Linked DNA regions of Homo sapiens: region 2 is linked to region 1. The links are contacts of gene promoters, found by promoter capture Hi-C in human tissues and cell types (Jung and others, 2019). All regions are on one chromosome and are shown on one strand. Each heading gives the region's core, a stretch centred on a gene start or on the middle of the fragment in contact. The rest is flanking DNA. Distances are from core to core; before and after follow the strand shown.

The links. The method cuts DNA at HindIII sites, captures the fragments that hold promoters and counts their contacts. A contact is called where the count stands out against the background at its distance.
Region 2: a contact is called between a fragment that was not itself captured here and the fragment with the promoter of TMEM119 in region 1, in 2 of the 25 tissues and cell types used here (bladder and spleen).

What each region holds. Positions count from the first base shown.
Region 1 is chr12:108,596,697-108,600,480 of GRCh38, reverse strand. TMEM119 (transmembrane protein 119) reads left to right here and starts at 2,397. Exons shown (of 2, transcript NM_181724.3): 1 at 2,397-2,511. The HindIII fragment of the contact is 8,836 bases long and covers 1-3,784 here.
Region 2 is chr12:108,766,945-108,770,487 of GRCh38, reverse strand. No RefSeq gene overlaps it. Among named protein-coding and RNA genes, the nearest start is that of CORO1C, 37 kb to the right of the region's middle. RefSeq lists an enhancer at 1-111 and a silencer at 1,669-1,738. The HindIII fragment of the contact is 6,877 bases long and covers 1-3,543 here.

The sequences.
Region 1 (3,784 bases), core at 1,148-3,647:
GTTACAGCAGCAACAGGGAACTATACCCTTGGCCTTGGCCTGTGCTTTTGACATTGCTGAGCACGTGCATGCTCCCTAGCTCCTCTGCCTTCCCCTGCCAGCTTCCGAGTAGTAGGGAGTCTCCATCTCCATTTTACAGAGGAGGAAACAGAGGCTCCATGTGGGGCAGGACATGGTGGAGGCAGGATTTGAAGTGGGTCTGTCTGCCTCTCGCTAGATGAATGAATGAATGAATGAATGAATGAATGAATGTAAGGGGCTGCTAATCCACGGGACTCCTCAGGTCAGCCAGATGTCCTGGTTCCAGGGCCTGCCACTAACTCACCTCAGATCCCTGCTTGAACCATTAGAACTCACCTGCCTCACTTTCCCCCTCTGTGAAATGGGGCTCCAACGCCTATTCAAGCTACTATCATTGGGGGCATTGTGAGGCCACAGATCCCAGAACAAACCCTCCAAACCCTCATTGACTCCCTACTGCCTCCTAGGTGACCTTCCAATACTTTAGCCCAGCTCCTGCCAATGTCTCCAACACTTACTACCCCTCCTTCAGGGGGATGCTCTGCCCAGGAGGGAGAAGCAAAGAACGAGGGGAAGGGGACTCCGAGAGCTTCCCTCAGGCTGGGCCTCTGGGGCCACCTGTGCAGGGAGCAGGCTCTATTTGGGTTGGTTGTGTCCCTGCTCCTCGACATCCCAAGGTCCCCAGACTGCAGCCCTCAGAATGTTGGGTAAGGTCTTCTTCCCCTGCTGGTGGGCCCTGGGGGAGGTTTGGCTGCCCCTGACCACCCGATGTCTGGTCTAAGACAGGTCAGGTAGGCCTGGAACACCCCTGGCCACCTTAAAGCGGGCACAGCTGCTACAACATGTCTGTGGGTGGCCACTTGCCCCTGGGACATGTGTGTGCATGAATGTGTCTGTGCGAGTATTGGTGGATGGTCCCCTGTTCCCTCGAAGATGCAGGGTTTGGGGTGATTTCCAGAGAAGATGGGAAAGTCTCTGATTTTATTTCCCAAGCAAATGACTGTCCCAGTTTTCTGGGGGTGAGCGAGGGCTGCTGGGACCATTGCAGGGAACAATGATAATCTAGGCTTGGTTCCTACCCAGAGAGCACGCACTCATCCTTCATGCACTCCCCTGTTCCAAACCCTCACTGGCTCCGTACTGCCTCCGACCTTCCGAGACTTTAGCCTGGCTCCTGTCAACATCTCTGACCCTTACTACATGATCCTCTCTTTGGTCCATGCTCCAGCCTAATCTAATTGCGGTGGCTTGTGCGTGGTGGCATTCCCAGCCACCATACCTTTACCCACGCTGGTCCTTCCATGCGGAATGCCTTTCCAGGGCCTGCTTTGCCCGCTTCTGCTCATACACAGGCATGCCCTCCAGGATGGCTTCCTACCTCTTTCCCTTGGGGGATTGATCTCTCTGTCTTGGGGTTCTCGGAGCCCTTGACCTGACCCCTTTCTGTTTGGCAAAAAAGTAATTTACCTCGGTGTCCTTCTCCCTGGTAGTCTGTGAGCTCCCCAAGGCTGGGCTGTGCCTGATTCACCTCTGGAACTTGCTTAGCACAGTGCGTGGCCTGCTGCAGGTGTTCATTGAGCACTTGCCGAATGAATGCATGAATGAATGAATGAATGAATGAATGCAAGGGGCTGCTAATCCACAGGACTCCTCAGGTCAGCCAGACGTCCCGGTTCCAAGGCCTGCCACTGACTCACCTCAGGACCCTGCTTGAACCATTAGAACTCACCCTGCCTCACTTTCCCCCTCTGTGAAATGGGGCTCCAACTCCTATTCAAGCTACTATCATTTGGGGGCATTGTGAGGCCACAGATCCCAGAACATCAGAGTCAGAGGTAGCCCAGAAAGCTTCCCACCCATCCCTACAAATGGGAAACTGAGGTCTGGAGAGGGAAGGGCAGAGTTGGGCTCCCTGTCTCAGGCTCGGACCCACCATCAGGCCTGTCTCTAAAACGAATCCCAGCTCCCACGCTGCACCCTGAGCCTGGAAGCCTGAGCCACACAAGGACGGGGAATTTTCCTTCCCACTTCCAGAGGCCTCTGAACCTCCCTGAGCTTGTCCCCTTTGGAGGGTATTGGGCAGCAGCGTGGGCAGAACCCCAGCTCACTGTCTGGGGGAGCGCTGCAGGACAGCCTTGTCTGTCTGTCTCAGCCTGCCCTGGGGACCCGAGGTCAGGGAGGAAGTGCCGCATCTGGTCTTCCCCAGAGCGAGAGTGTGAGCAAGGGTGGGATTGCGTGTGGCCCGAGAGTAGCCCCTCCCCTCCCCCTGTCCCCACCCCAAACCCTCTTAATGAAATCAAGCTGGCCCTGCGGCCCAGCCGGGGAGGGAGGAAGGAGGAGGGACGGGAGGAGGGACGGGAGGAGGGAGGGCGGGCAGGCGCCAGCCCAGAGCAGCCCCGGGCACCAGCACGGACTCTCTCTTCCAGCCCAGGTGCCCCCCACTCTCGCTCCATTCGGCGGGAGCACCCAGTCCTGTACGCCAAGGAACTGGTGAGTCCTGGGGTCCCCTCCTCTGTCCTGAGAGCCTGGAGCTATCTTGGAGCTTAGGGACTGGGGACTGTTGGAGCACTCTGGGGGGCCTCTCTAAGTGTGTGTGGGCTTTGAGTGTGTGTTTGGTGTTGTGTGCATGAGTGTGGTGGAATCTGAGTCCCGTGTGCGGTGCTGGGGTGGGCCAGGGTGGGCCGGAGTGTTGTGTGTGTGCGGCTGGGGCCTTGGTGTAGGGGGTGTGTTGCTTCCACTTTTCTGCAAGTGGATGCCAGGCTGTTGCTTCCAGGATCTGTGTGAGGGTGATGTGGACGGTATTGTCCTGTGTGCAGGGATCGGCTGTGTGTCAGGGGGTTGTGTATGTATATGTGTTGTGTGTCCGTGTGTGTTCTCTGTGTATTGTGTGCATGGGCCATGAGAGTGCTGTTGGGTGTCTCAGTGCTGTGTGAGTCGGTGTGCCTGTGTTGTGTGTCTTTATATTGTGTGTCCATGCTGCTCTGTGTGTGTGTGTGTGTGTGGAGGGGGATTGTGCCCCCAGGACCCCCCTCCCCATCCAGACCTCCAGGGCCCAGGTCCCTGTCCTTGGCTGGCCCTGGGGTCGGGGGCATGTGCAGTGCTCCAACCAGAACACCCCTCCCCCACAAGGCCACTGATTGAAGCCAGGTTTCCGTGGGCCGCCCCTCCCCCAAAGGCCACCAGTCTCTGGGTGGGGGTGGGGCAGCCCCCGGTCCCCTAGCTTCAAGTCTTGGGGCCCCCAGGCCTCAGGGGTGCATCTGCACTCCTCCACAGACTCAGGACCATCTTAGGGCATTTGCCACACTTACACACGGCCAGCCCTGCCTGACATGTCCCCAGGCAGGGAGTCCTGGGCAATCACGTGGTACCTGCTAATTGGCACCCACTGTGCACCAGGCATGGCCGCATCTTGTCCTAACAGCAGTCCAGGGAGGTGGCTCTTATCCCCATTGTACAGATATGGAAACCGAGGCTCAGAGAGGTGACATGCCCAGCCCAAGGACACATAGCCGGGAAGTGACCTCCTCTGGGATATACCAAGACAGGCTTCTCTGTCCAGGGCTCTGCTGGGCTCACCCCTGACTTTCTGTGTGACCTGGGCAGGCTGTTTCCAGTCTCTGGACCTGAGTTACCTCTAAGGTGAAGCAAGAGGCGTTGGGCCTGACCCCAGCTCCTAATGGCCTGTTAGATTCTGAGTCCTTGAAAAAATTAGGGTCCGGGGGGAGGTAGGCAGAATAATGACTTCAGAGCTGCCCAGAACAGT
Region 2 (3,543 bases), core at 762-3,261, 170 kb before region 1:
CCTGGCCTTCTGTGCCCAGCCTGGTGGGGGCCAGCGGCAGCTGCTCCTCCAGGGGAGCGCCTCCTGATGGAGGCTGGAAGGAAGGGAGGGCTGGGGAGGTGGAAGCCCCTCCAAAGTTAGCCCAAGGCCCCCAGGGGAACATGCCCAGCCCTGGCCTTCTGTGCCCAGCCTGGTGGGGGCCAGCGGCAGCTGCTCCTCCAGGGGAGCGCCTCCCGATGGAGGTTGGAAGGAAGGGAGGGCTGGGGAGGTGGAAGCCCCTCCAAAGTTAGCCCAAGGCCCCCAGGGGAACATGCTACTCAGAAAGGAGAGCTGGGGTTCAAGTCTACCAACCCTACTTATAGCTGTATGACCGTAGACGCCTCGCTCCACCTCTTTGAGCCTTGCTTCCTGTACCGTGGGGCTGGTGGCCTCATAAGGTTGTTAGGAAGCAGGTGAAGCATGAAGCATACAGTAAGTGCTCCATAAATGTACCGGTCATTGCTGCCCCTCTGACTTGTTGCAGTATAGCACCTGTCTTCTACAGATGGGGAAACTGAGGCCCAGAGAGAGGCAGTTACTTGTCCAAGGTCACAGAGCCTGTCTCTTGCTGGTTCCAGCTTCGGCCTTAGCCATTCTCCCTGCTCAACCCAAAGCTCAGCAGGGATGGGCTCCTGGGTGGACCAGGCAGGGGGTTCCCTTGGGCTGAGGGGGCAGGAAGGTAGGGGTGGAGGAAGGGTTCAACAAAAACAGCCCCAGCTGGGGGCTGTGGCTCACGCCTGTAATCCCAGCACTTTGGGAGGCCGAGGCAGGCGGATCACTTGAGGTCAGGAGTTTGAGACCAGCCTGGCCAACATGGTGAAACCCCCTCTCTACTAGAAATCCAAAAAATGTCCGGGCATGCAGCACACCTATAATTCCAGCTACTCAGGAAGCTGAGGCAGGAGAATCACTTGAACTTGGGAGGCAGAGACTGCAGTGAGCCGAGATCACGCCGCTGCACAGCTCCACTGCACTCCAACCTGGGTGACAGAGTGAGACCCTGTTTCAAAACAAAACAAAACAAAACCAGAAACAGCCCCTTTGCTGCAGGCCTCCGGGATGCCAAACACTTTGGTTGTTTTCTTATTAATCCTGAAAACACTATTAAAATGGTATTATTCTTAGCATTCCCATTTTACAGATGAGAAAACTGAGGTTCAGAGAGTTGCCTAAGCACACAATGGGAAGAGGGAGGCTCTTGACCCCAGCCCCAGATCTGTCTGTTGAATGAAGGAAGAGATAGTGTCCCATTCAGGGGTGCACAGCGAGCTCTGTGGTTTGGTGAGTTCAGTCTGTCTCCCCGACCCCCAGATGACAGGTGAGAGGAGGACACAATGCCAGCAGCTCTTGGGCTTGGGATGTCATAGAAACTTCCAAAGAAAGGGGAAGAGAAAGCCCAGTCACCCTCGCCCCACCCCCACAGGTCGCAGAAGCGGCTCAGGGATGGCAAATGGGCGTGGAGGTGGCCTCCGCAGCCCCAGGGGGCAGGGCAGGGACGCTCTGTGCCAGATGGGGGTGCCAGGCGCTGCCTCCAGCGACCACGCCCACAAGGTGCTCTGCTGCCTGCCGGACCTCTGCGCAAGTGCCTTCGGGCCGATGCAGACGCCCACTGCGCCACTTCCCCCGGGCTCCGGGGACCCCCTCCATCCGCCCGGCCTAGCCCTGGAGGCGCGACGCCCCGTCGTGTACCGTCTGGAGGAGGTGGCGCGCTGCCTGCACCTCCTGGAGCTCTCCAGCTCCGAGGGTCCCCGCTGCAGGCCCGGAGTGTCTGCCGGCCTCCAGGTGCACAGGCTCCAGAGCGCCCCGCAGGGGACTCCGGGAGGCGCCTCTGCCTCCGATTCCCCTAGAGGGGACCGGCCAGTCCCAAGGTCCAACAGGAAGAAGGCAGAAAACCCCATCCGAAAAGGTGAGCGCCTTTCGGGGGCTTTCTTCCCTCCATTGGACCCACAGATTCTAGGCACAGTTATCCCGGGGGGCATCCGTGGGTCTGCATTCTCAGTATTGCTGTCCACTTGCCCTGTGGTTTCTGACAAACTCCTGGCCCTCTCTGACCCTCAGTTTCTTTATCTCTGCCACCAGAGATAAAGAGATTGGACTTTGGTTTTTCACTCTTAAAACTGAAGACAAGACCTCATTTCTGTGGGAGGAGGGCTCCACCTGTGGGATTATAAGGACAGCATCTGGGCCATACAAATCTTTTCCCTTTCCCTAAAAAAACTAGCTACGGAGCTACTTCTAGGGTTACAATATCTAACTCTTACAAGAATCCTCCCCGGGAAATGCTGTTACTCCATTTTATTGAAATGAAAACTGAGGCCGGGCACGATGGCTCACGCCTGTAATCCCAGCACTTTGGGAGGCCGAGGTGGGCGGATCACTTGAGGTTGGGAGTTTGTGATCAGCCTGGCCAACATGGTAAAACCCCGTCTCTACTAAAAATACAAACATTAGCCAGGCGTGGTGGAAGGCACCTGTAATTCCAGCTACTCTGCAGGCTGAGGCAGGAGAATCGCGTGAACCCAGGAGGTGGAAGTTGCAGTGAGCCGAGATCGTGCCATTGCACTCCAGCCTGGGAGACAGAACAAGACTCTTGTCTCAAAAACAACAACAACAACAACAAAAAACTGAGCTTATAGTGAGTGGGTTCAAGTTGCAGAAATGGGATTTGAACCTCCACCCTCCTTCCAGGCCTGTCTGACTTTAAAGCCCCGTGCTTTTTTCTGCTAATAATGCAGATCGTCTCCATGAAAGCCACACAGGCTGGATTCTCAGCAGGAATGGCCAGGGGTCCTACCTCTTGTCGGTGCCACCCATCAGCTCTCTGAGGCCACTGCCCTGAAGGATCTTCGGCGATCCCTGGGGAACACCTCTCAGCTGATGTGGACAGGGCATCACTGGTATAGCCTCATGCCATGACCCAAAGCTTCCAAATGGAACGGAGGAGGGCCCCCATCACAGAAGTCCAACAGGGACCCCTGGATTGGGCGTGAAAGAGTGAGAAGAAATGGGGGTTGTGTGGGGAATTGGGTGTGGGAGTGTTCCTACCAGACTAAAGAACTGATGGGCGAGGCCAGGTGCGGTGGCTCATGCCTGTAATCCCAGCACTTTGGGAGGCAGAGGTGGGCGGATCACAAGGTCAAGAGATGGAGACCATCCTGGCCACAATGTGAAACCCATCTCTACTAAAAATAGGAAAAAAAAAAATTAGCTGGGCGTGGTGGTGCAAGCCTGTAGTCCTAGCTACTTGGGAGGCTGAGGCAGGAGAATCACTTGGACCCGGGAGGCAGAGGTTGCAGTGAGCCGAGATCACACCACTGCACTCTAGCCTGGTGACAGAGCAAGACTCCATCTCAAAAAAAAAAAAAAAAAAAAGAAGAACTGGTGGGCCAGGTGTGGTGGCTCACCTCACACCTGTATCCCAGCACTTTGGGAGGCCGAGGCAGGCGGATCACTTGAGGTTCAGGAGTTCGAGACCAGCCTGGCCAACATGGGGAAACCCCATCTCTACTAAAAGTACAAAAATTA